Regions from separate parts of the Homo sapiens genome. Here all the other regions are linked to region 3. The links are contacts of gene promoters, found by promoter capture Hi-C in blood cells and fetal thymus (Javierre and others, 2016). All regions are on one chromosome and are shown on one strand. The core of a region is centred on a gene start or on the middle of the fragment in contact, and the rest is flanking DNA. Distances in the headings are between cores, read along the strand shown.

Region 1 (3,266 bases), core at 355-2,854, 640 kb before region 3:
ACAAATTGAGTGAGGTTATCTCCAGAATCACTTTCCCAGTCTAAAGAGCTTATAATTCTTTGAACCAGCTTATCCCTTTGTTCTTTTTGGGGTCCTAATTAGGGAAAAGGAGTCAGGCTGGTGGGACCGAGGGAAAGCAGAAAGAGGAAGCAGATAAGTTATGTAGGCTTGCCTTTCTTCACCAGGACCAGTCCTCCTATGAATATAACTCAATCGTCCTCTACCCACCTTCTCACCAGGCACGGGTAAGTGAGCTCCCTGTAACCCTGGTGTTATCAGTACTGCTCGTAGCCCTCTTCAGCACACAGCAGAAGCACAGTTCTATAAAATCCCCAGCCCTGCAAGACTTTGTTTCCTGGCAGTCAGCTCCTCTTCTGCTGGCCTACCTGTTGCCTTCTTGCAACATATTTTTATACTTTCTTTATTAAACCTGCCTTTCTTTACCTACAACTATCTTGATAAATTCTTACCCCCGTGCCACTGGCCCGGATAGTCACCAGTCACCCATGACATTCTTTTCCCTTCTGTTCCCTGTATGTCATGTCCCACGGCAACCTTCCACACTTTATTCTAAATAAGCACTCATTTGGTCAGTGACTAGGTTAGCAAGTGAATGAATGACCAGCTTCTGTGACCTCATCTGCCTACCTTCAACATTTCCTTTCCTGTCCTCTTCCCCACCCTGCCCCCCAATATGTGCTTTTCTTCATCATTTCACTGTCCTTCCCAGCAACTGAATTTAGAGTCTTCATTCCAGCTCCTCCTGCTCCATTCCTTCCTGCACTCTTTGCTGCTGTTCTCTGCTTGCTTCCCTGCTGTGTCATTTCAGTTGCTAGAGTTTTGTGTTTTGCTTGCCACATCAGTCTCTGGCTTATCTGCATTATATTCCTGCTCACCAAAATAGAATGACTGAGATATTGATTGAAGTGGCAGATTTGGATTCGCCTCAGCTCTGGTGTTAGGTTGTTCTTGGCTTGCTATAAAAAAAATACCTGAGACTGGGTAATTTATAAGAAAAGAGGTTTAATTGGCTCATGGTTCTGCAGGCTTTACAGGAAGCATGGTGCTGTCATCTGCTTGTCTTCTGGGCTGTCTCAGGGAGCTTTTACTCATGGTGGAAGAAAAAGAGGGAGCGGGTGGGTCACATAGCCAGAGCAGGAGCAAGAGAGAGAGTAGGGAGGAGATGCCACACACTTAACCAATCTCTCTGGAACTCACTGTCACAAGGACAGCACCAAGCCATAAGGGATCCACCCCCATGACCCAAAAACCTCCCACCAGACCCCACCTCCAACACTGGAGATTATAATTCAACCTGAGATTTGGAGGGGACAATATCCAAACTGTATCAGCTCACAAATGAGATTTGAATCTGAGTAGTAAGTTTATGACAACCAAGGTGAATTGGTAATGGGAATAGTTAGGAGTATCAGACAAACATAAGAAACAAGTTAGCTTTTTTTTTTTTTTTTTGAGATAGAGTCTTACTCTGTCACCCAGGCTGGAGTGCAATGGCATGATCTCGGCTCACTGAAACCTCTGCCTCCTGGATTCAAGCAATTCTCCTGCATCAACTTCCCCAGTAGCTGGGATTCCAGGCACCCGCCACCATGCCTTGCTAACTTTTGTGTTTTTAGTAGAGTGGGGTTTCACCATGGTGGCCAGGCTGGTCATGAACTCCTGACCTCAAGTGATCCACCCCCCTCGGCCTCCCAAAGTGCTGGGATTACAGGCATGAGCCATTGTGCCTGGCCACAAGTTAGCTTTAATTCTCTGGAGGACAGTCCATGGTCAATGGTCTCAGATGCTTGTAAAATACTTGAAGAGTTGATGCTGCTGCTCAAGCCCACCTCATCAATTCCCAGCCTTTACCAGTTGATAACTGATGGTCTGCAGAGGGATTGGGAACATCGCTCAACCTGTTCCTTATTTCTTATATCAGAGATCGGTACCACATTTCCCCTGTCATGTGCCTGACCCGATGCAATAGCTACTGAATATGTACAAAAGCATACAGACTCTGTATTTGAAAATAAGAACAAGCCCTTGATAGGTAATTGTATACTTATGAATTATCAAAAATTTACTATATGAAAAATAACAGACTTTTTTTTAACCCTGTAAAATGTTTTATAAAAATTTAATTTTAATTGTAATAACACAAATGGATGGATGTTTAGGTGCTAATTAGAAAAGTAATTGGAAATTTTTTCTGTCAAAGTATCCTCATATGTCTGAGGAAATCTTTCCCTACTTGAGGGCTGGGGAGGGAGGGAAGATACAGCAAGGGGATCGGGAATCCATGTGTGCCTCAGGCTCGATCTGTATCCTGAGGGATTGGTAATCAGTGTGTGTATCAGGTGAGATCTGTACCCTGAGGGATTAGGAATCCATGTGTGCATCAGGTGTGATCTGTACACTGAGGGATTAGGAATCCATGTGTGCATCAGGTGTGATCTGTACCCTGAGGGATTGGAAATCCATGTATATATCAGTCATAATCTATACCCTGAGGGATTGGGAATCAATGTGTGTATCAGTCATGATCTATACCCTGAGGGACTGGGAATCTGTGCATGTAGCAGGTGTGATCTGTACCCTGAGGGATTGGGAATCCATGTGTGATCAGGTGTGATCTGTACCCTGAGGGATTGGGAATCCATGTATGTATCAGTCATGATCTGTACCCTGAGGGATTGGGAATCAATGTGTGTATCAGGTGTGATCTATACCCTGAGGGATTGGGAATCTGTGTGTGTATCAGGTGTGATCTGTACCCTGAGGGATTGGGAATCCATGTGTGTTTCAGGCATGATCTGTACCCTGAGGGATTGGGATTCCGTGTGTGCATTAGGCATAATCTGTACCCTGAGGGATTGGGAATCTGAGTGTGTATCAGGTATGATCTGTACCCTGAGGGATTAGGAATCCACGGGTGTATCTGGCGTGATCTGTACCCTGAGGGATTGGGAATCCGTGTGTGCATCAGTCATGATCTGTACCCTGAGGGATTGGGAATCCATGCGTGTATCAGGTGTGATCTGTACCCTGAGGGATTGGGAATCCGTGTGTGTATCAGGCATGATCTGTACCCTGAGGGATTGGGAATCCGTGTGTGCATCAGGCATGATCTGTACCCTGAGGGATTGGGAATCCGTGCGTGTATCAGGTGTGATCTGTACCCTGAGGGATCGGGAATCCTAGTGTGTATCAAGTATGATCTGTACCCTGAGGGATTGGGAATCCGTGTGTGCATCAGGCATGAT
Region 2 (3,074 bases), core at 81-2,580, 920 kb after region 3:
TTACATAAAGTAACAGTCAAACATGCTCAAGAATTTTTCAACTTGAGGCCAATGACCTTTGAACTTTGACTGATGGTTTTTTCAATCCCATTGCTGTTCTATTGCCGCAAAAAATTTAACTTGGCTGTGTGTTTATTCAACTTGGACTTCACAATAATGTTCTTTGCAACTCAGGACTGTTAATCTGTGGCTTTTGTATTGGCAACTGTTCTGGCAAGGGTGGAACCCTCGTTTTCCATGACTTTCTAACCTCCTGAATTGCAGCACCTTGGAGGGGAGCTCCAGTGGCCAAGACAGAAGTGGTCCCAGTGATTCTGGGGAGAAAACTGAGCATCTGCTTGCAGACCTGGGGCTCCTGATTAAATCATAGCTATAAATACTTAGGTTTTCATTTATATGCCTTCATGTTACACATTCCTAAGTTGCATGTACAGTTCTGAAGGCTGTGATTACAGGTGGAGATGATGTCGGTGCCATTACTGGGATGCCACAGTGGAAATCAACATGTCAACCTACAAGACTGTAAGAAAACGTCTTAGAAGGCTGGCACTTTCATTCATTTGGTTCACTGCTGTATCCCTAGTGCTGGGAAATGTTCCTGAGCACTCAACAGATTTTATTTGAATGATCATTTTATGAAACTTTGTTTCAATTTTAGGAAACTAAGTTAAAAACCCATTTGAAAGGGGTCAACTTTGAATGTGTCTTTACATTTCTTCCTTAGTTAAGATCCACTCAAGGAGAGATCCGGCACTATTGTGCTCAAGTAATATTGTCTGCACCCGACTCCCCTGAAAAGAAATGAGTCCTGAGGCAGCCAGGCAGATCTTTTAGGATATTCCATCCCACAGGTGAAATACAAACATGCTTCATCCAGGAGATGACTCTAGTTTCACTATAAAAGACCCTTCAACTTTTTTCACGTTAGACTGAAGTGTTTGGTCAGATTTCCTCAGTATGACAAAGGTTACTCTTTTTTTTTTTTTTTTTTTTTGAGATGGAGTCTCGCTCTGGCTCTGTCGCCCAGGCTGGAGTGCAGTGGTGTGATCTCGGCTCACTGCAAGCTCCACCTCCCGGGTTCATGTCGTTCTCCTGCCTCAGCTTCCCGAGTAGCTGGGACTACAGGCGCCCACCACCACGCCCGGCTAATTTTTGTATTTTTAGTAGAGACGGGTTTTCACCGTGTTAGCCAGGATGTTCTCGATCTCCTGACCTCATGATCCACCCGCTTCGGCCTCCCAAAGTGCTGGGATTACAGGCGTGAGCCACTGAGCCTACTTTCTTACCCAGGCTTCCAAAAAGGCTGGAGTTTCCACAGAGATTTATTACTATATGCATCTCATCAAAGGGCTAAGATACTTCTTGACTGTGTATATCAGTACCATGTGGCTGTTTTGGTTCATTTGTACATTTTTGGTTTGCAGTGACATGTCATCAAGGGCCTAAGAACAGAAATTCATTCTGTCTATGTTTTATGAGTTTAGGGGCCTGGAAAATTGCAAGCAACACCCATGCTTCAGGGAGGCCCCAGGACTCAGGAAAGGGGGCAGTCTGTGAGTCCTCCCAGTTTCCCAGCTAATCAATGAAGTGAACAGTGCAAGGCTGTGGAAAAGATGTTCTCTCTGACTTGGGACATGTATAATTTGTTGCACCTGAGACATGTGTAGGAGTTAATGTGGTCAGAGCTCAGAAGTTACAGATTTTGGAGTCATCAGCAAATAGTGATATCTGAAGCCCTGGGCGTGGAGGAGAACACCCAAAGATAAAGCATGTAGAATGAGAAAATAAGAGGGTTGAGGATAGAATGCCTGGAAACACCATAATTTAGGGGGCTGGCAGCAGACGAGGAACCGGCCAAGAACTAGAATAGGACAGCAGGCTGTCACATGGGCATCGTGGAGAGCAGCCTGCACAGTCAGCATTCTTAAATCCTACACACAGACAGAGGAGATGCGGATTGGAAACGGTCCCTTAGAAAGATCACTAGAAGGAAATACATAAAAATATCCACAGGTCTATTCCTGACTAGTGAGATGTCAGGTGGCTTATGTTCTTCTCTCACCATTCTTGCATCTTCCAAATTCTGTACAAGAAACATTAATTACATTTATATTAAAAAGCTATTAAAATATAAAACAAGGCTCTGATCAAGTCTAAAATATTTTATGAGAGCCTGATGAAAAGAGCAAGTAATTATTAATTCACAAGTATTTCAGTGCCTGTGTGCTGGGCACCATGCTAAAGATAAAACAATGAACAAGAGGACAGCTCTGTTGTTTGACAAAAAGGAGCGGAGGCTGGTTTGGCAAGGGAGGGATGTAGGGCTTGTGGGACACAATGGCAGGAGATGAGGCTGGAAAGGTCGTTTGGTGCCAGATTACAATGGACTTTATGTGTCTTGTCAAATAATATGGTCTTTATTCTGAAGGCTACAGAGAGGCTTTTGAGGGGGGCAGTGTTAGGTTTGGAATTGTGCTTTACCTGAAGTTAATTTTCGACTGGATTTTGGCAGTAGTGTGGCTGCTGGCCTGGGGGAGTCCAAGCAGGAGACCAGGAGCACAGGCAGCAGGCAAGTGCAGTAACTGAATGAAGGCAGTGCCCTGAGCACGGGCCAGGCCCAGAGATATTTAGGGGTAGCGTCAATAGGATATGACTGATTGGATGTATGTTGCACGAAGTAGGGCATTAAGAAAAAAAAGGAACAACAAACTTCTTCCTGCTTATCAAAGACCATAATGAGGGCAATGGCCTTTCCTGAAACACGTTCCTTGGGAAGTCAAGCATGAGCATCACAATAGTTTGGAAGCTATCTGCACCCAGCAAGTGAGTTTCCAGTTAGCCTCACGCATGGCAATAGGTGCTTAGGATGCAGGATGCAGGTTCGTGGCCCCGGCCCTGTCTGGCTCCCCTGAAATCACACCACAGAGGCAGCTGCCTTTCGTAAACACAAGGCAGGCAGTGTTAGCTGGTCCAACTAGACCTCATTCTTTCTTTCACCTGGGGCCTGTGCACGGAGGCTGCTGACATGAGTGGACTCCCACGTGTGTGGTGAACGAGAAGTTCAAAGTGACACT
Region 3 (3,283 bases), core at 103-2,602:
CAGCTGCCAGAGAAGAAAGCAAGCAAGGCCGCTTCCTGCGGCTAAGTGGACAGGCGACTGCTTGCAGGGATCCGGGGGTGCGTTGACCGAGGCCCCTGTCTCCAGCAAATGCTTCAGACCATCCACCTGCAGGAAGAGAACAGATCCAGCACCCTTCCCACCTTTGTCCAGTCCCGCGCCCCTCCGGGCTGGAAACCTCCCCGCCCTTCACAACCAGCTCTGACCAGGCAGCGCCCAGTGGTCCGTCCCCGCATTAACGAGAAGACGAATCTAGAAGCTTGAGCCTGCAGGACAAAAGCTCGGGCTCTGTGAGCCCGAATCTCACCTCGGGGTTGCAATCCAGCAACAGCATTTCCCGCCTAAGGCAGATGACAAGAGTCCTTGGAAGTGCAGAGAGGTGAGACACTCGCCGCACCCCGACAGGTAAGAATGCGCAGGCTGGCCCTAGCACGGGAGAATTTAAAGACCGCTGGGACTTCCGGGCCGGCCCTTGGCAGCCGCGCCCCAGCTCCGGTTACGCCCGAGCAGCCTAATCCTCAACGACCCGGACCCTGTCCAGCCCCGCCACGGCCGCACGTACACAAACACTGGCACGTGGAGCCCGGCGCCGGGGGCAGGGGGAGGGGGCGGGCGCGCGAGGCCATCCGCCGATTGGCCAGCTGTGGATGCGTCAGGCCCTCCCACCTCGGGGCGGGGCCCGCGGCGGCCCCACGGAGCCTCAGCGCGCGTGCGCAGGGTAAGTCAGTGGGCGTGAGAGGACTGGAGTAGGAGCGGGTGGGGCTCCGCGGCCGCCATGAGGCGCGCTGAGTTTGACACGTCTCCCGGTAGTGCGCCCGCCCTTTAATCCTTACGGAGAAGCGGGAGTTTCGGCTGCAGGTTTTGGCTCTGCCGGCGCGCACGTAACCAGGAAACTGGGAGCCACGCGCAGCTCCCCGTCGACGCCGCCTTCAGAAGCCGCTGTGCACTGCGCTGCTGCCGCCTCGGCGCCGGGGAACGCAAGTTCCTTTACCTCGCGCGCAGTCGCCCGCCTCCCAACCCGGGAGGTGAAGGCGGGGACGGCGAGCGCGAACTCGAGGGGATGGCTGTCCCGAGTGGCAACGGCCGAGCCCGGCCCGCGCAGGGACCCTTGTGGAGGGGCCCTCGGGGAGAGGCCGCAGCACGCTGGGGTCGTCACGCTGGTCCACGCCGGGCTCTCCTCCCGGGAGAGCGGACCCGGCCGCGTGCGATTCGGACCCGCGGGGCTGGTGAAGCCGCTGTCCGGCCCCGCGGGTGCTGTCGGGCGTGCGTCACTGCTTTTTGTAGAACATGACCTGACTTCCGATGGCAGCTACTGACGTCAGAGCTGCTCCCTAGACTCTCCCTAAGCGTCTTTCCAGAAGGATCTGCTTAGAAACCAAAGCTCCAGCCGAGTGTTTCTTTTCCCCTACATTTTTAGTGATTCCCTTCTGTTGATGCCTTTGAAAGCTCGGAGAAATAAATACGTTTATTGTTATGCTGTTAGAAAACAAGTTCATGCTTGTCCTCTAAAGATAAGTGGTCTTTTCATTCTACTTTTTGTTTTGTAGTAAGAGCCATAAAATTTGCAATCGCAAGTTTATGTTGTTATACTTAGTTACCCAAGGGGTAGTTTTAAGCATTTTTATTCATATGAATATTTGAATATAAATGTGTGTTCAAATATATAGAATCGTTCTTATATTCCACATTTTTAATATTTAAACTATTCACAATATCTTTTAATGATGTTTAAAGAACGGCAGTGTAGAGATACTGTTGTCAGATTTGTGAGGTGAGCACACGTTGATATTGCCAGTTTCGCTTTTGTTTATCAATTCAATAAGCACTGCTTTTTAAAACACGTGTTGAAGCTTCAGGTTTGCACAGAAGTTCATTTTCAGGAATTCCTAACTAATAAAGGGTATCAGACACGTTCTTACAGTTTTGAACATAAATACTGCAGTTAGCATATGTAGTGGGATATTTGTGTGGTGAAAGTGCCTCCATATTTCATATCTTTTCTTTGAAACAAGATTCTGTTCAGTATGCATTAAGTGGTAGTTATTTTTTAACTTCCTGTTACATACGTAAATTTCATAAGGAAAGGAAATTTGGGGAGTCGTTACAGCTTTTCTCCCTTTAATCACAGCGTACCTGTCCATTGCTCACATTGTTTTCAGAAAAAAAAGTTGTATCTCAGCTGGATATCTGACTTGACTTTAGTAATGGGCCTAGAAACTATAAACTGAACAAAGCTTATAATGCACAAAAACAGGATAAGTACATTTGGGGGACAATATCTTACTGGCAAGTAACTGGAGTTTCACCAGGCGTGTAGCAGGTGGGATCAATTTTCTAAAACGGAAGATGATCTAAGATGCATATTTTATAGGCGTTCTCCTAAGCAGTGCTAATTCTACATGTTTTAATTGCTGGTAGATGCGTTTCCAGAACGAGGATGCCATTTACAGCGAGTGTTAAAAAAAACGTTGGATGATGAGTAAGTGACCGAATAGATGAGAGATGTGTGGGCTGAATCTTGAGTAGTAAGAGTTTGCTAAGGAGTCCAGGAAGGGAAGAGTATTTCTAAGAAGTGTAAAATATCTTCCAGTATTGAGAGCACTATATGTAGTTCAGTCTGGGGGCAGTGTGTGATACACATGCAGCTGTGATGTGAAATAGAGAAAGGCCGACAAATGAGAAAGTATTAACCACTAACGTCTATTCCAGTTTATTATATTACAAATTGACATTAATTGAGCACTTGTGCCTCAAGACTAACGCTCATAGGTATTATCTGCATTTTACAGAAGAGGAAATTGAGGCTTAGGGAGATCCATTAACTTGTCATGTAATTATTAGCAGGTAAATCAGGAATTTGAAGTCAGTTTGACTCCAGAGCCCACATTCTTATACCTATGTGTTTTAAATAATTTTGGTCACCTCTGGTCAATTCAGGCTAAGATTGGTTTCTTTAATGCAAACCAAAGGCCTTTTTTTTTTTTTTTTTTTTTAACTCTGAAACACAATCTCGCTGTCTTGCCCAGATTGGAATGCAGTGGCGTGATCTCAGCTCACTGCAACCTCCGTCTTCCCGGGTTCAAGTGATTCTCGTGCGTCAGCCACCCAAGTAGCTGGGCTTACAGCTATACGCCACCACACCCAGCTAATTTTTGTATTTTCAGTAGAGATGGGTTTCACTGTGTTGCCCAGGCTGGTCTCAAACGCCTGACCTCCAGTGATCCACCTGCCTTGGCCTTCCAAAATGTTGGGATTACAGGCATGA
Region 4 (3,322 bases), core at 13-2,512, 670 kb before region 3:
CTCATTTTTCCCCTTTTTAAAAGAATTAAGGCTGGGAGCAGTGGATCATGCCTGTAATCCCAACACTTTAGGAGATTGCTTGAGCCTAGGAGTTCAAGACCAACCTGGGCAACGTGGTAAAACTCCATCTCTACAAAAATTACAAAAATTAGCTGGGCATGTTGGTGCATGCCTATAGTCTCAGCTACTTGGGAGGCTGAGGTGGGAGGATCACTTGAGTCCAGGCAAATTCAAGTTTGCATTGAGTCATGAGTGCGCCACTGCACTCCAGCCTGGGTAACAGAGGGAGACCCTGTCTCAAAAAAAGAGAGAGAGAGAATTAAAAAAAAATGTATGCCCATAAATGTAAAATAACAAATTTAGTAAACACTGATATTTCACAGCATTACAGATCAGCCAATCTCAGAATAATGGGAAGCTGTATATTCCCAGCAAAACAGAGATCTACAGAATTCTAGAAGCCAAAGTCCCTTAAATTTATTCACATTCTAAAAACTCTAAGTTCCCTTCTTCCATTTGAGGGGCCTCTTTAATGAGAGTTTAGTAAGATAATATACACAAAATTTCTGGAAGAATCACTTGACAAAACACAGCAAGTTACAGAGACCGGAGTGACAAGCCAGATATAATTAGCAAATTACCACTCACATGCTGAACTACACAGACACTGTTCTTCTCTGCCCGTTCCTAATAACAATTCTTAATAAAACAGCCGTTTTTATTTTTTTTAATCTTTTTTTTCCTGAGACAGAGTCTTGCTCTGTCACCCAGGCTGTAATTCAGTGGCGCGATCTCAGCTCACTGCAAGCTCCGCCTACCGGGTTCAAGTAATTCTCCTGCCTCAGCCTCCAGAGTAGCTAGCTGGGACTACAGGCACGTGCCACGACGCCCGGCTAATTTTTTGTATTTTTGGTAGAGACGAGGTTTCACCGTGTTAGCCAGGATGGTCTCGATCTCCTTACCTCGTGATCCACCCACCTTGGCCTCCCAAAGTGCTGTGATTACAGGCGTGAGCCACTGCGCCCGGCCAATTACAACCATTTTACCTATAGACAAAGATAGTGTATAGTCTGTAGGCAGTCTAGTCAATTCATTATAAGATTTATAAGGGAAAGTTTATCATTTTCATTATCATCATTATCAGCACCTACAATACTGAGGCTTTACGGAACCATCTTTACAATCTCCCGAATGAATGAATTTAGACATGAGGATTGTGTCACCGCAGTTTCTAACCACAAATATAGAGAATTGAAATTGTGGGGCAAACAGAAGACTCTCCTCTCAATGCATGTATGTGAAAAGGCAGATTAGTACTGAACAATACAATAATTACACTCTGTGAGGGCCAAATATAGAGAGAACTAATTGCTCAGTAATACTTAACATTTGTGCCAGCAATGAATATCCAATTATGAGTGAGCTGTTGGGTATTTGAGGCAATATCATGCATAGGTTTAATTTAAACGGGCTCTTAGAGTCTCAGAAGTAAACCTTTATTCATGGTGTTAAAGTACATTAAAATGGAGACCAGGCCAGAAGAATCCATGAACATACCAAACCAGCAAGGGCTCATAAGCGACCTCGACCTTGCTTGATCTGCAAACATAAGTGACATACGCAAACATAATAACTTGAGCACTATATCTTGTAAATGCCTATATTAAAGAAAACGTAAACACAACCAATCAGAAGCAGCCAACAAACTTATATAACTAAGGACTTTCCAATGAGATAGACCAAATAAGGTAGCTGTATAACTGTAAACAGTCAAGCGCTGTCTTTGCTCTACTTCTGTCTCTGTCCTGAAAAAGCCTTCTCTTGTGTTCCCTTGGTGGAGCTCCCCAACCACTTCTGGTTCATGAATCATTGCTGGTTCAGAAGCACTGTAAAACTGTATTGTGCCTCAGTTTACTTTTTTATTTGTATAGATTTATGGGAGTACTAGTGCCATTTTGTTCCATGCGTAGATTGCATAGTGATGGAGTCAGGGTCTTTAGGGTATTCATCACCCAAATAACATATATTGTGCCATTAGTATCAGTTTACTTTTTAAGAATAGGAACAAGGAGATTGGACCAACCAATGTTCTCTGGGTTGGCAGGAAGCCAAAGTAAGGCTAGACCTTTTCATCATTCAAACTTCTCATGGGTATGTAATGCGATGAATATATTATGAACCTAAACAAATGGTTAAATTCCCTGAGAGCACCAGATAGACAGTCATTGTGAACTGCACTCAACTGGTCCCTTCACAGCCCCCATTCAGAAAGGACATGGTTCTGATCTGTATTGGCTGAAATTCTAGGAAGCATTTCTTTTCTTTCTGAATCCTTTCTCTAAAGTGAAGATACAGTTCCTCTTACCAGTGTCACTTCTATTTCTGCTCACTGAGCTTTCGCTAGTTTGAACTAGGCTCAACCAAAGACCCCAGCAACAACTTTAAGAGAGAAAATAACAAATGTCCCTCTCCCTACTCTCGCTCATGTCCACTGAGCAGTATTGAAGTTGAATTTCCCCTCTGAAAAAGAAACCAATGTTTGCCACAGAGAGCTTCTGGTTTAATCTAAACTTTTTTTTTTTTTTTTTTTTTTTTTTTGAGGTGGAGTCTCACTCTGTCTCTCAGGCTGGAGTGCACTGGCACGATCTCAGCTCACTGCAACCTCTGCCTTCCCGGTTCAAACAATTCCTGCCTCAGCCTCCTGAGTAGCTGGCACTACAGGTCCCTGCCACCACACCTGGCCAATTTTTGTATTTTTAGTAGAAACGGGGTTTCACCATGTTAGCCAAGGTGGTCTCGATCTCCTGATCTTGTGATCCACTCACCTCGGCCTCTCAAAGTGCTGGGATTACAGGCGTGAGCCACCGCGCCCAGCCTAACCTAAACTTTTATTTATTTATTGTATTTTTTGTAATTTTACAAGGTAGTTGAAAGTGATACTTTTTTTTTAATGTCATGAGATATGCACTGTTTTATTCCTTCATTTTAAGCCACTCTATCGAGGTATGATCGATATACAAAAAGCTGTGAATATTTAATATATATAACTTGATGAGCTTGAAGACAAGTATACTTCTGTGAAACCATCACCACAATCCATACCATAAACATATCCATCACTTCCAAAAGTTTCCCTTTATTCTATTCATTTATTATTATTTTTGTGATATATCACAACATGAAATTACCTTTTTGGCAAATTTTTAAATATATAATACAGCATTGTTAACTATAGGCACTAAACTGTACAGTAGATCTCTAGGGCTTACTCATATTGTATAAGCTGGACTTGGTGCCCTTTGACTAATACCTCTCTGTTTAT
Region 5 (3,461 bases), core at 78-2,577, 750 kb after region 3:
AATGCCCATCCATTGTATTTTTACTTTTATGCCCTATCTAGAAAAAGTAGACCTGGTTTAGGATTATTCAGCAAATAATAATTAGAAAAGAAATGGTAGAGGTGACATACGGAGTCACTGAAACGATGTAAACCTGCAAGATAGCTGAAAGAGGGCCAGGCAAGGTGGTTAGACCAGACTGTATCAAAATGGGCTCAGCCACTGTGAATGTGCGTGCTGTGGTTACATAATCTCTAAAAATGAAATATAAAGCTTAAATCATCTCTATCACAGCCCGATGCTTGGACTTTGGTTTTGCTTTGCCTTTTTGCAAAAGAAGGTTTTTGAAAGTGAAAATTATTTTAGTGAATGGATGAACAGTTTATTGGAGTATGGCAATAAAACCTGTTCAAAGTAAGAGACATTAGACATTGTACCTAGTTAAATCAGATTTGCTTTTGCTATCCTGAATAAAGGCCTTGCCTCTTGCCATTTGAAGAGACTGGCATCTGATATAGGCAATTATAATGCTTCTTTACTGTTTTGTTTTCAAACCTCGTTTAACACAATCTCCTACTGCTTCATCCCCCTACAAAGCAGTCTTTATTTTGATGAATGATATATTACATTGCTTCTGGTGCCTACTATTAGATCTTTAAGCTCTGCCCCAAAGATAAGAAGCACTGGTGTTTGGGCCTAAACAAAGATGGGAGAATTCTTAGATTTATATAATATTCTTTCTCTGCATGTTTTGTTCTTACCTTCACATGTTGCCTGTAGAGCTTCTTTGCATTACAATAATGAAATCAAGCTACCTGATATGTATTGGACACGGTCTGGCATCTGCCTTGTTGAGCCACTTTTGAATACCAGTGAGCATCGGTATAAGCCCTGAATAGAGATAGGGTTTGTCTCTTCCACTGCTTGATACACTCAGGGTCTAGTATAGTACTCTGCACACAGTTGGTGTTCAGTAAATTGTTATGGTGCAAATATCAAATGAATAAATGCTACTGAATCTGAGTTTTGGCAGTTTCAGTCTTCCTGACAGCAGGATTTCTTCAAGCGGTTTTAAACTTGAATCTGATTCTGCAAAGTAGTCATCCTTGGTGGGAGTGCTGAGGCTTTAAAGTCATCTGTAATTTTTATAAAAAGGCATCCGAGATCCTCCATTTTACACTTATATCATACAAATCATTTAGATCTGTGAAGGCTTTCCCATTTTCTCCTTTTGTCCTTCCAAAAACACCATCTTAGGACTTCACCTGGCACAGGGAAGACAGATCGTTTGCACATACTAAGTGCCCTTCTTTCTAACTTGTGTCATAAACTCAGAGGCTTTGAATAGTGGAGAGTGCTCTGTACTGTCTTCCTGGTCACGTGGCCCTTGCCAGAGGAAAGGAAAGGATGGTTTGTTTGTATAGTACAATGGAACTTATTTCAATGTATTCTGTATTTGATTTTACATTCCTGTTCTCATATTTTTACCTTAATTACATAACAAATATTAAAAGATTGACTTCACCAGGCCCAGTTACAATCGCCAGTTTGATAATTCTTATACGTACTCAAATGAATTCAGAGACCAGATGGGAAAAGATTTTGATAAAACCTCTGGTACATCACAACTGAAGTCTTTTCTTGTCCAAACTATTGTGAAACAGATGTTCTTTCTGTTTCATTTGCTAAATCTGGAAACGTGACTGCTTTTGAGACTTTGTCCTCTCTGACAGGTAATAAATATAATCCTGATATTTTTCAAGTTGTTTGACAGAAGTGTAATCTCCCCAGAAGTCCTGCTGGACAGGCTTCACTTTTCCTTTGGAGGAACACAGAGATACAGGGAATATGTTTTAATGACATATACCTAACGCTGAACATGAAACCAGTTATTTTACTTTTATTATTATTATTTTTAGAAACAGCCTTGCTGTGTCACCCAAGCTCAAGTGCAGTGGTGCGATCATAGCTCACTGCAGCCTCCAATTCCTATGCTCAAGTAATCCTCTTGCCTCAGCCTCCTGAGTAGCTGGGACTACAGGTGTGTGCCACCATGCCAGGCTACTTGTTTTTACTTTGTTATAGAGATGGGGTCTCTCTGTGTTGCCCAGACTGGTCTTGAACACATGATCTCAACCATTCCTCCCACCTTGGCCTCCCAAAGTGCTGGGATTACAGGCGCGAGCCACTGTGTCTGGCCTATTTCACTTTAGAAGTAAATTGAATGCCACATGCGAAGTTTGTTAAATTTTTTTAAAAAAGGAAAGAAAACACAAAAGTAAACTACCTAGTCGCATCAGAAATGCCATAGTCATTTTTGCCATTTTTTCATTCATTAGAATTCAGTGCATTATGTTATTTTGTTATCTCTGCAGTAACTTTCTATCATGTTATTTATTTTCTTTGTCTTATTTAAAGCTTCTGAGATTATGGATTTTTGTTTCCTTCCCTGAAGTTAAGTGTTATCATTCCTATATAGTACTAAGCTGTCTACAGAATAGTGGGAGTCTGCCCTCTTGAGTTGGGAAGATCCTAGTTTGAATCTTGGCTGTGCGACTTTAAAGTTCATTAACTTCTCTTAGCCTCAGTCACCTGAACTCTGCAGTGGGGATCCTTATGCCTCAGAGTGTCATTGGGAGGACTCACGAAAATACGCTTGTACTTTGAGTTCAGTACCTAGCCTGTATGAGCCAGCATTAAGAGGGACAGTCATCACGCAGCGCTTTGCACACAGCTCTCACGCCACATCCTTTGGCTACTGTTTTGGTAAATCTTTACTAGTAAATGTTTCTTAAAAGCATTTACATTCATGGACATGATTCAGAAACTAACAGTTGTTTTTTAGGTCTCACTTTGAGATTTAAAAACCCTTAGGGCAGAGACCAGATTTTATTTCTTACCTCAGAGTTTCCCTGTAGGACAGGAACCAGCAACAGCCTAATGAGCTGATTAAGAATTTTAGAGATTTAAAATTTAAATTAGGATTGCCAGTTTTAGAGACTGGCACATAAATGTTTTCATTTAAGGCAGTGACTGTTTCCTTTAGGATATGATTTTTTATCTTTCTAAGATGAGATCACCATCCTCAGAATAATTTGTACCCCGCTGGGCACTAGCTAATGGAGGTGATGTCATGCTAAGCAGCACTTCAGTGAGTTTTGCGGGAACCAAAGCTCTGCTCCCAGGAGTGTGGATTTGGTGCTTTCATGTGGAAAAAGCGGATGATGACAAGTAGAGAGCAAATGTGCGCATGTCTGATGCTGTAAGGATTTCCTTTACCATCATATAAATTTTTAAAGTATATCAAAATAAACTGATAACTGAGAAAATATATGTTGTTCAGATACTAATAATGAAGTTAATGAAGTCCACTATAGTATTTGTCCCTGAGAAATCTTTATCAAATATTTTAAATCCTATTGTAAAATAATGTATTTTTTCTTTCAGTTTTAGAGACTGGCAATCCTAATTTAACATCTCCT
Region 6 (2,992 bases), core at 479-2,978, 800 kb before region 3:
CAAAACAGTATGATGAGACTTCAGTATATTACTTTCCAGGGGTAGGGGATAGGGGAAAATCTATATTTTTGTACAGTTTATTTTTTAATACCATAAAGCCTTAGGACAAAAGGGGTGGTTAGCTCTGCTTTTAGAATTAACTGAGATGATTTTTACCAGTGTGATTTTCATATCTGTGTTGGATTACTTGTTACATCAGTCATGATGATATTTGGTTGGCAAAGAGTTCGCTTGATTTTTTTCTGTCAAAGTATTTTTAATATTTTGGTAAACACTCTTCCATGAGGCCTCATCTTGTGAAGTTGAAATTACAGCATTATTTTTATTAGAGAAAACAAGTGAAAATGAGAAAAAGTCCTTCAAGCTTTGGAGTTAGTTAATGCTCAGCCTGTAAAACGATTACTAACAAATAATCCCAGAGGAAACTGGGTTCTGGTCTGGGCCAATTTTAAAATATGCCATTTTGGGCAAATCTTCTCATTTCTGGGTACCTCAACGTAATCCCTGATGAAAATAAAACTCTGAGATCGAGTTCGCCCTCCCTGACAGGGAGTTGTAAATACCAGGTACTTTTGAGAGCTTTCTAACTTAACGTGATTTTTTTCCATCAATAAAATGTCCATCTCTGTTTTAAAACATGATTTTAATTAAAAAATTCACTCTTTAATAAACAAGGCGTTTGACACCCTCCAAAGAAGTCTGCCTGAAGGCCCTGCCGTCTCTTAATTGTTATTATGTAACATCCTTTAAAGGGCTAAAGTATGAAGGTCAAGCGGGAACTGAAGCAGCAGTCAAGTCTTGTGATGCCGGGAGGAAGCGTCCAGTGAATCTCTAGTCTCTTATTTTCCAAAGTGGCAGCGAGAGGAGGGCGGCTCTGGGCGTTAAGGTGTTGGCCAGTTTAAAACCGCTCTGTGCTCCCAGGGAGCTTCTGTTCCTAAGGCTTCCCAAGCCAAGGCAGGAGGAAACGGCAGGGCTTTGAGAGCTGAGCAGCGGTGAGGTGGGAAAAGACCGAGGGCAGGGGTTTGGAAATACCGCATCCTGTGCTACACACAAAGAAAATGCTCACTTTGGGATGGGGCACTAGCAGTGTCGGCGGGTGCCAAGGGGCAACGACTAGAACTGGGAGTGCATTCTCCACAGGGTGACAGGCTCCTCTCTCCTGCGGCCAGCGCCACAAGCAGCGGGTTCCTGGCTGATCGGAGGGTGGGAACGGGGCTGCGGACCCCGTTGCGCTCCAGGAGGAGCGCCGGCCCTTACCTCGCCCGTCCGGCTTCATCAGCAGCGCGTGGCCCACCAGTGGGTAGGCGCGGGCCACCGTGGGGATGGGCCGCATCTGCTGCCATTTCCGCGCGTAGCTCGCCACCCTCTGCAGCAGGCTCAGGACCAGACTGGCGCCGGCCAGGGAAAGGGCACTCGCCGCGCCCCACAGCAGCAGCTTCTGCCACACGAGCCCCAGCCAGAGCCCCGCCATCGCCCCGGCTGGCGGCCGCGGGGTGCACTCCGGGAAAGTGCGGGCCCGCGGGGGCGTGGTGCGAGGCGGTGCCGGCCGCACACCGCCCACTTCCCCGCGCGGACCTGGCGCGCTCCCCGCTGCGGGGTCGCCCGGTCCCCGGAACGACGTTTCCCGCCCGGGCGGCGGCCAGAGAGGGCGCCACGGGGCTGTTCCTGCGCCCGGCCCGGCCTACGCAGCACCGCGGCCTCCACGCCCCAGCCGAAAGCGAAAGACCGGAAAACGGTTTCCGGGCCCCAGGGCGTAGTGATTGCACTGGAGGCCCGGAGGCTGCGCCGGGAGGAGGCCGGCGACACTTCCGGCCGCCTCCGGATGCGGGGTCAGGGGCGTCGGAAAGGTCACCGCGGCAGCCCGGCGCGCCCCAGCGGGGCTGTTCTGAGGGTGCTGCGAGGTTGCTCTACGTGCGGGATTCCGCGGGCGGGCAGCCTGCTCTGGAGAGGAAAGGAAGGCGCATCCGGCTCGGAGCCCAGCTCTGCTGCGCATCGCTCGCTCCCTGCGCAACTTGCAGCCCCGGGAGGCGGGGCGCGTCCTGGCTCCCGCGGGGTCACATGGAGCAGCGGGCGCTGTAATCCAGGGAGGCTTTGGGGACACGTTAGGGAAGTCAGCTACCCGTGTGTGTCCGCTGGCCCACTGGGACACTGGGAGCTCAATGAGGTGGTTATGAGCCAGGTATTTTCCAAAATACGCACCAGGCACCAGACCGAGGAAGCCGGAGCCCCGGAGAGCACGCAGGGGCGGGTGGGAGAGGAAGGCGGGCGAGGCTGCTCAGCGGGTGCCGGGAGACCGCAGCCGCGGGGTACTCGCAGAAGAGCCAAGACCTGCCACCCAGCCCGGGAAGGGAGGGAAGGGCCGCGAGAGGGTGCCCCATTTCAGCCTGGGGAGACGCGTGTGCTGGCCGCCAGTCTCTCTTCCCGGCAGAGGGCCCCAGTGCTGACCCCAGCCCCTTTTCCACGCTCGATGCTTCTTACAAAGTGGCCGGGCGAGGAGTGTCGCTCCCCGAGAGGCCAGGCCCTTCCTAAACACTAAAGTGCCAGGAAGATGAAACTGAATGTCCTGGATGCCCGCTTTGCTTAATTACTAATTACGTTCGTTCACTCGAAGCCACTGCATAAGTTGGCCACAGCCACCTGCAGGGCCTCTTTAGTGCAGAGAAAAACATGCCTAAGGCTTTTCTCCATTTGAATTTGTTTTAAGTCATCTGCATGGGCTGACGTGAAATAGCAAGTGAACAAAACAAGTTGCAGAACGGAGTGTGTAAAGTAATGCCTTCTTTTGGAGAAAAGGTTTCTTTCTCTACGGCTCCACTAATGTCTGCAAGTAAAAATACTGATCAGCTCTATGGAGTGGGAATGAAGATGGGGAACTTACGCTTTTTATTTCATTCACGTCTACATTGTTTAATCACTTTAACACTTTAAAAAATAAATATGTTCACTTAGTATCTTTAAGCAAGTCTCATGGGCTTTAGTTTCCTCCTCTCTA
Region 7 (3,426 bases), core at 539-3,038, 660 kb after region 3:
GCTCGCCCCCACGTCCAGCTAATTTTTGTATTTTTAGTAAAGACGGGGTTTCACCATGTTGGCCAGGATGGTCTTGATTTCCTCACCTCGTGATCCGCCCTCCTGGGGTTCCCAAAGCGCTGAGATTACAGGCATGAGCCACCGCGCCTGGCCCAGAAATTTTACCTGTGGGTTGTCACAGAGGTTTCTGTCTCTCAGAAGCCCCACCTTGACTCCAGCGTAAGGCAAGGAGGAACCTTGACTTTTTTTCCCCCCCAAGAAAGGACAAGACAGCTCAAAGAGTTTAGGTTAAGAAGTTTATGTGGTCTAGTGTGTAGCTGGGTTTCTGTTACCTGGCTATGTGACCCTTGATAAGTCACTTAAATTTTCTGAATCCCGGAATCATCATCTATAAAATTGCCATAAAACCAATACTTGTCTTACCTGCTTCCTTAGGTTTCATGAATTAAATAAATAAATCGTGAACTTGTTAGAAATGCAGAATCCCAGACCTCACCCCAGAGGGACTGAATCAGACACTCCTGGGGTGGTGCCAAGCAACCTGTTCAACAAGCCCTCTTGAGAATTTTGATGACACTCAAGTCTGGGAACCACCGCTCTGAACAGTTTTCTAACTTTTTTTTTTTAACTGTGATTCACAGTAATGATGTTTTACATCACACTTAGTACACGTGTGCACACATCCACACATAAAACAAAAGGCTTGTGAACATAGTATATCCAGTGCAATGCTTCATTTTATATTTTCCTTTTTTATTGTTTGTTTTTTTAAAAATGCTGGCCTGGCAATCTTAAAAGACATTATAGGACAATTGATGTGATTTGGGTATGGACTGTAGATTAGATTATGGTATCAGTGTTAAATTTCTTGATTTTAGAAATTGTACCATGAATATGCAGTATAATGCCCTCTTAGGAAAGACATATTGTAGTATTTAGGGGTGGAAGTGCACAGTATCTCCAGACACACACACACACACACACACACACAGAGCACATGAGTAAAGGGCATACAGAAGGTCCTTGTGCTATGTTTGCAACTTTTCTGTGAGCTTGAAATTATATCAGATAAAAGGATACTAAAACATTGGTTTAGACTAAGCTGATTTTGCTGTCTACAAATGAGAAAAATATGGCTGCAATCTGCATGGCATATTTTAAAGTCTAATTATGTACTGTATTCTCCTGGAGTATCCCCCCCGTACCCTTGTACGATGCCTGGTTGGTGGAGGATAGTCTGTACATATTCACTGACTGCTGGCACTATTATTAGTAATAATGATATATAATCCTGCCACTGTTATTTCCCGTTTTTATTCTTGTCACCATTGTTACATTTGTTTTCTTGAAGCTTGTTGAAGATATATATACAACTTTATCATTTGAAGCTGTGGTCCAACTGAGAGAGTGTCAAGGGAGGTCGAGGGCAGGCCCTGGATTTGAACTGATGTAAATTTTAATGCAGGCTTGTCTCCCTCCTGGCTCCGTGTTGCTGTGGGCAAGCACACATCTGTAACATGGGATTCACTTCTACCTTATAGGACTGTTAGAATTAAATGAGAAAAGGACGTAGGAGAGCCAGGCACCGGATGGAGCAGGTGTCGGGGCTTAGCGTTAGCCTACCTCCCCTTTGTTCAGCTGTGCAGAGAAAGTCAATCACTGCTGATTGATTAAGGCCTCAGGGAAAAAGTTAACAGCAGGATTCCAACTTTTCCATGTCCCTGAGGGGGAGAGGTATGTTATTTTATACATTGGTGATAGGATTTGACCTATAAAAAATAAATTTGTGGAATATGGGTTCTTGTTTTTTTTTTTGGTAAAAATGCGCGGAAAGGGTCATAACTATGGTGTTTCCTCAGTTATTTTAACTATTTCCTAACTCTTGTGTTTTTTTGCTGTTTAATAGCGCAAGACGTTCAAAGAACACTTTAGAAAGAACACATTCCATGAAAGATGTAAGTTACCTTTTTGTGTTGTGGTTTTCTCAAAATTGACAGTACAAAATAACATTTTTTGGGTACCTCAGTTTTGTAGACTTCACTTGGCAAGTTCAATGTTTATTGTAGTGAAAAAGTGTGTTCATTTTCCTCACACTTTTTCCGGTATAGTGGATAAAATGACTTTTGTTAATGTTTTAGAATTTCCTTTATTTCTGAGCCGAGTTTGGTTTTATTTTCGTTTAGATAATTGACTTCATGTAAAAATTGTACAGTGCTGTAAGCTTTTTTCACTTAAAGCCATTTCTCCTCATTGTACTTTTCAAGAATTGTTTTATGATTTCATGATACTCCACTTAGTTCACATTACAGGTTTACTTTTCTTTAGAGTCTTAGAATAAATGTATGTTAAAGGCATGTGCATTTCTTTAACGTTCTTGATAGCTAATTCCAGTTTTTTTTTCCAGTGGCTTGTGTGATTGACATTGTAATCTCACATTAACAGTGTATGACAGTGCCAGGCACCCCGGAAGGAGTTCCTTCTGCTTGTTCTGCCCTGGGCTTTCTCTGTCCTGCATAGTCCTTAACCCCAGCCTGCAGACGATAGCTCTCTTCCCCTCTGGGAAACCCTGGGATCCCCCTGCAGGGTTTTGCTCAGCGCTCTGCTCCCACCCCGGCATTACTTCACGGGTTCTTTGGGTGGATTTCTCTCAGCTGTCCTGCCTTGCCCCTGCCATTGGTAGCCAAAGTACAGTGTGCCTCGGAGGGATTTCTCTAAGCTCCAGCCTTAGCTGGAAGCCCAGAGTGCCTGGAATGGATTCAGCTTTCCTGTCCTTCCCTCTGCAAGGCAGTCCCTGGTGGAGGCCCCCTATGCCTTGGGAGGGGCTGGAAGACCTGCCAGCTCTCTCCACATTCCACCCCCAAGCACTCCAGGAATGATTCTTTCACTGGGGGCATCTGAATGGTCAAGTTTTTATATGGTTTGCCAATTTTATTTGACCTCCTTTATACCTTCCAGAATTTTCTTATTTTTGTATCTGTTAATAGTACCCTTCCACATTTTCTGGAACTACCATGAAAGTTTTTCTCATTTTATGTATGTTTTCATGTTTCATTAGATTTGGGGTAGCAGACTTCATGGGTGTATCAGTATATTGAACTCTAAACCCTGGTGTCCTTTAGTCAGGAGTTTTTACACATGTGTACCCTTAAAACTGTTTATGAACTTTTGGGTATATGGGCATATTTCCGGAGACAGGACCCATCACTTTCCCTAGGTCAGAGGTTTAGGCAAACTGGCCCATGGGCCAAATCTAGCCTGCCACCTGTTTTTGTATATCCCTGCAAGCTAAGAATGGTTTTTACCTTTTTTAATGGTTGAAATAAAATAAAAAGACTATGTCATAATATGTGAACATGATATGAAATTCAAATTGCAGTGTTCAAAAGTCAAATTGTATTGGAACACAGCCATGCTCATTCTTTTCTG

What was found. Contacts are between HindIII fragments. The CHiCAGO score rates a contact against its expected background, and 5 or more counts as called.
Region 1: a contact is called between a fragment that was not itself captured here and the fragment with the promoter of LRP2BP in region 3, in 1 of 17 cell types (endothelial precursors). The highest score is 8.6, in endothelial precursors.
Region 2: a contact is called between a fragment that was not itself captured here and the fragment with the promoter of LRP2BP in region 3, in 1 of 17 cell types (fetal thymus). The highest score is 11.2, in fetal thymus.
Region 4: a contact is called between a fragment that was not itself captured here and the fragment with the promoter of LRP2BP in region 3, in 2 of 17 cell types (M1 macrophages and M2 macrophages). The highest score is 7.4, in M1 macrophages.
Region 5: a contact is called between a fragment that was not itself captured here and the fragment with the promoter of LRP2BP in region 3, in 5 of 17 cell types (fetal thymus, non-activated CD4 T cells, total CD8 T cells and 2 more). The highest score is 6.6, in fetal thymus.
Region 6: the fragment with the promoter of CYP4V2 here is called in contact with the fragment with the promoter of LRP2BP in region 3 in 4 of 17 cell types (total CD8 T cells, activated CD4 T cells, naive CD4 T cells and 1 more); the score reaches 8.3 in total CD8 T cells.
Region 7: a fragment that was not itself captured here is called in contact with the fragment with the promoter of LRP2BP in region 3 in 1 of 17 cell types (fetal thymus); the score reaches 5.9 in fetal thymus.

What each region holds. Positions count from the first base shown.
Region 1 is chr4:186,034,487-186,037,752 of GRCh38, reverse strand. No RefSeq gene overlaps it. Among named protein-coding and RNA genes, the nearest start is that of TLR3, 33 kb to the left of the region's middle. The HindIII fragment of the contact is 7,458 bases long and covers 1-3,266 here.
Region 2 is chr4:184,476,625-184,479,698 of GRCh38, reverse strand. IRF2-DT (IRF2 divergent transcript) reads right to left here. Exons shown (of 1, transcript NR_186573.1): 1 at 2,395-3,074. Among named protein-coding and RNA genes, the nearest start is that of IRF2-DT, 3.4 kb to the right of the region's middle. The HindIII fragment of the contact is 7,393 bases long and covers 1-3,074 here.
Region 3 is chr4:185,393,993-185,397,275 of GRCh38, reverse strand. LRP2BP (LRP2 binding protein) reads left to right here and starts at 1,352. Exons shown (of 9, transcript NM_001377440.1): 1 at 1,352-2,497. It overlaps ANKRD37 (ankyrin repeat domain 37), which reads right to left and starts at 435. Exons shown (of 5, transcript NM_181726.4): 1 at 326-435; 2 at 1-126. The coding sequence starts at 352. RefSeq lists silencers at 450-819, 1,040-1,229 and an enhancer at 850-919. The HindIII fragment of the contact is 1,591 bases long and covers 280-1,870 here.
Region 4 is chr4:186,064,078-186,067,399 of GRCh38, reverse strand. No RefSeq gene overlaps it. Among named protein-coding and RNA genes, the nearest start is that of TLR3, 3.4 kb to the left of the region's middle. The HindIII fragment of the contact is 6,011 bases long and covers 1-3,322 here.
Region 5 is chr4:184,644,311-184,647,771 of GRCh38, reverse strand. All of the region lies in intron 2 of CASP3 (caspase 3), which reads left to right. Among named protein-coding and RNA genes, the nearest start is that of CASP3, 3.4 kb to the left of the region's middle. RefSeq lists an enhancer at 2,776-3,407. The HindIII fragment of the contact is 2,145 bases long and covers 255-2,399 here.
Region 6 is chr4:186,190,303-186,193,294 of GRCh38, reverse strand. It overlaps CYP4V2 (cytochrome P450 family 4 subfamily V member 2), which reads right to left and starts at 1,728. Exons shown (of 11, transcript NM_207352.4): 1 at 1,258-1,728. The coding sequence starts at 1,471. It overlaps FLJ38576 (a long non-coding RNA gene), which reads left to right and starts at 1,805. Exons shown (of 1, transcript NR_046264.1): 1 at 1,805-2,992. RefSeq lists a silencer at 1,402-1,931. The HindIII fragment of the contact is 5,614 bases long and covers 367-2,992 here.
Region 7 is chr4:184,729,449-184,732,874 of GRCh38, reverse strand. CENPU (centromere protein U) reads left to right here. Exons shown (of 13, transcript NM_024629.4): 2 at 1,907-1,955. Among named protein-coding and RNA genes, the nearest start is that of CENPU, 2.9 kb to the left of the region's middle. The HindIII fragment of the contact is 870 bases long and covers 1,354-2,223 here.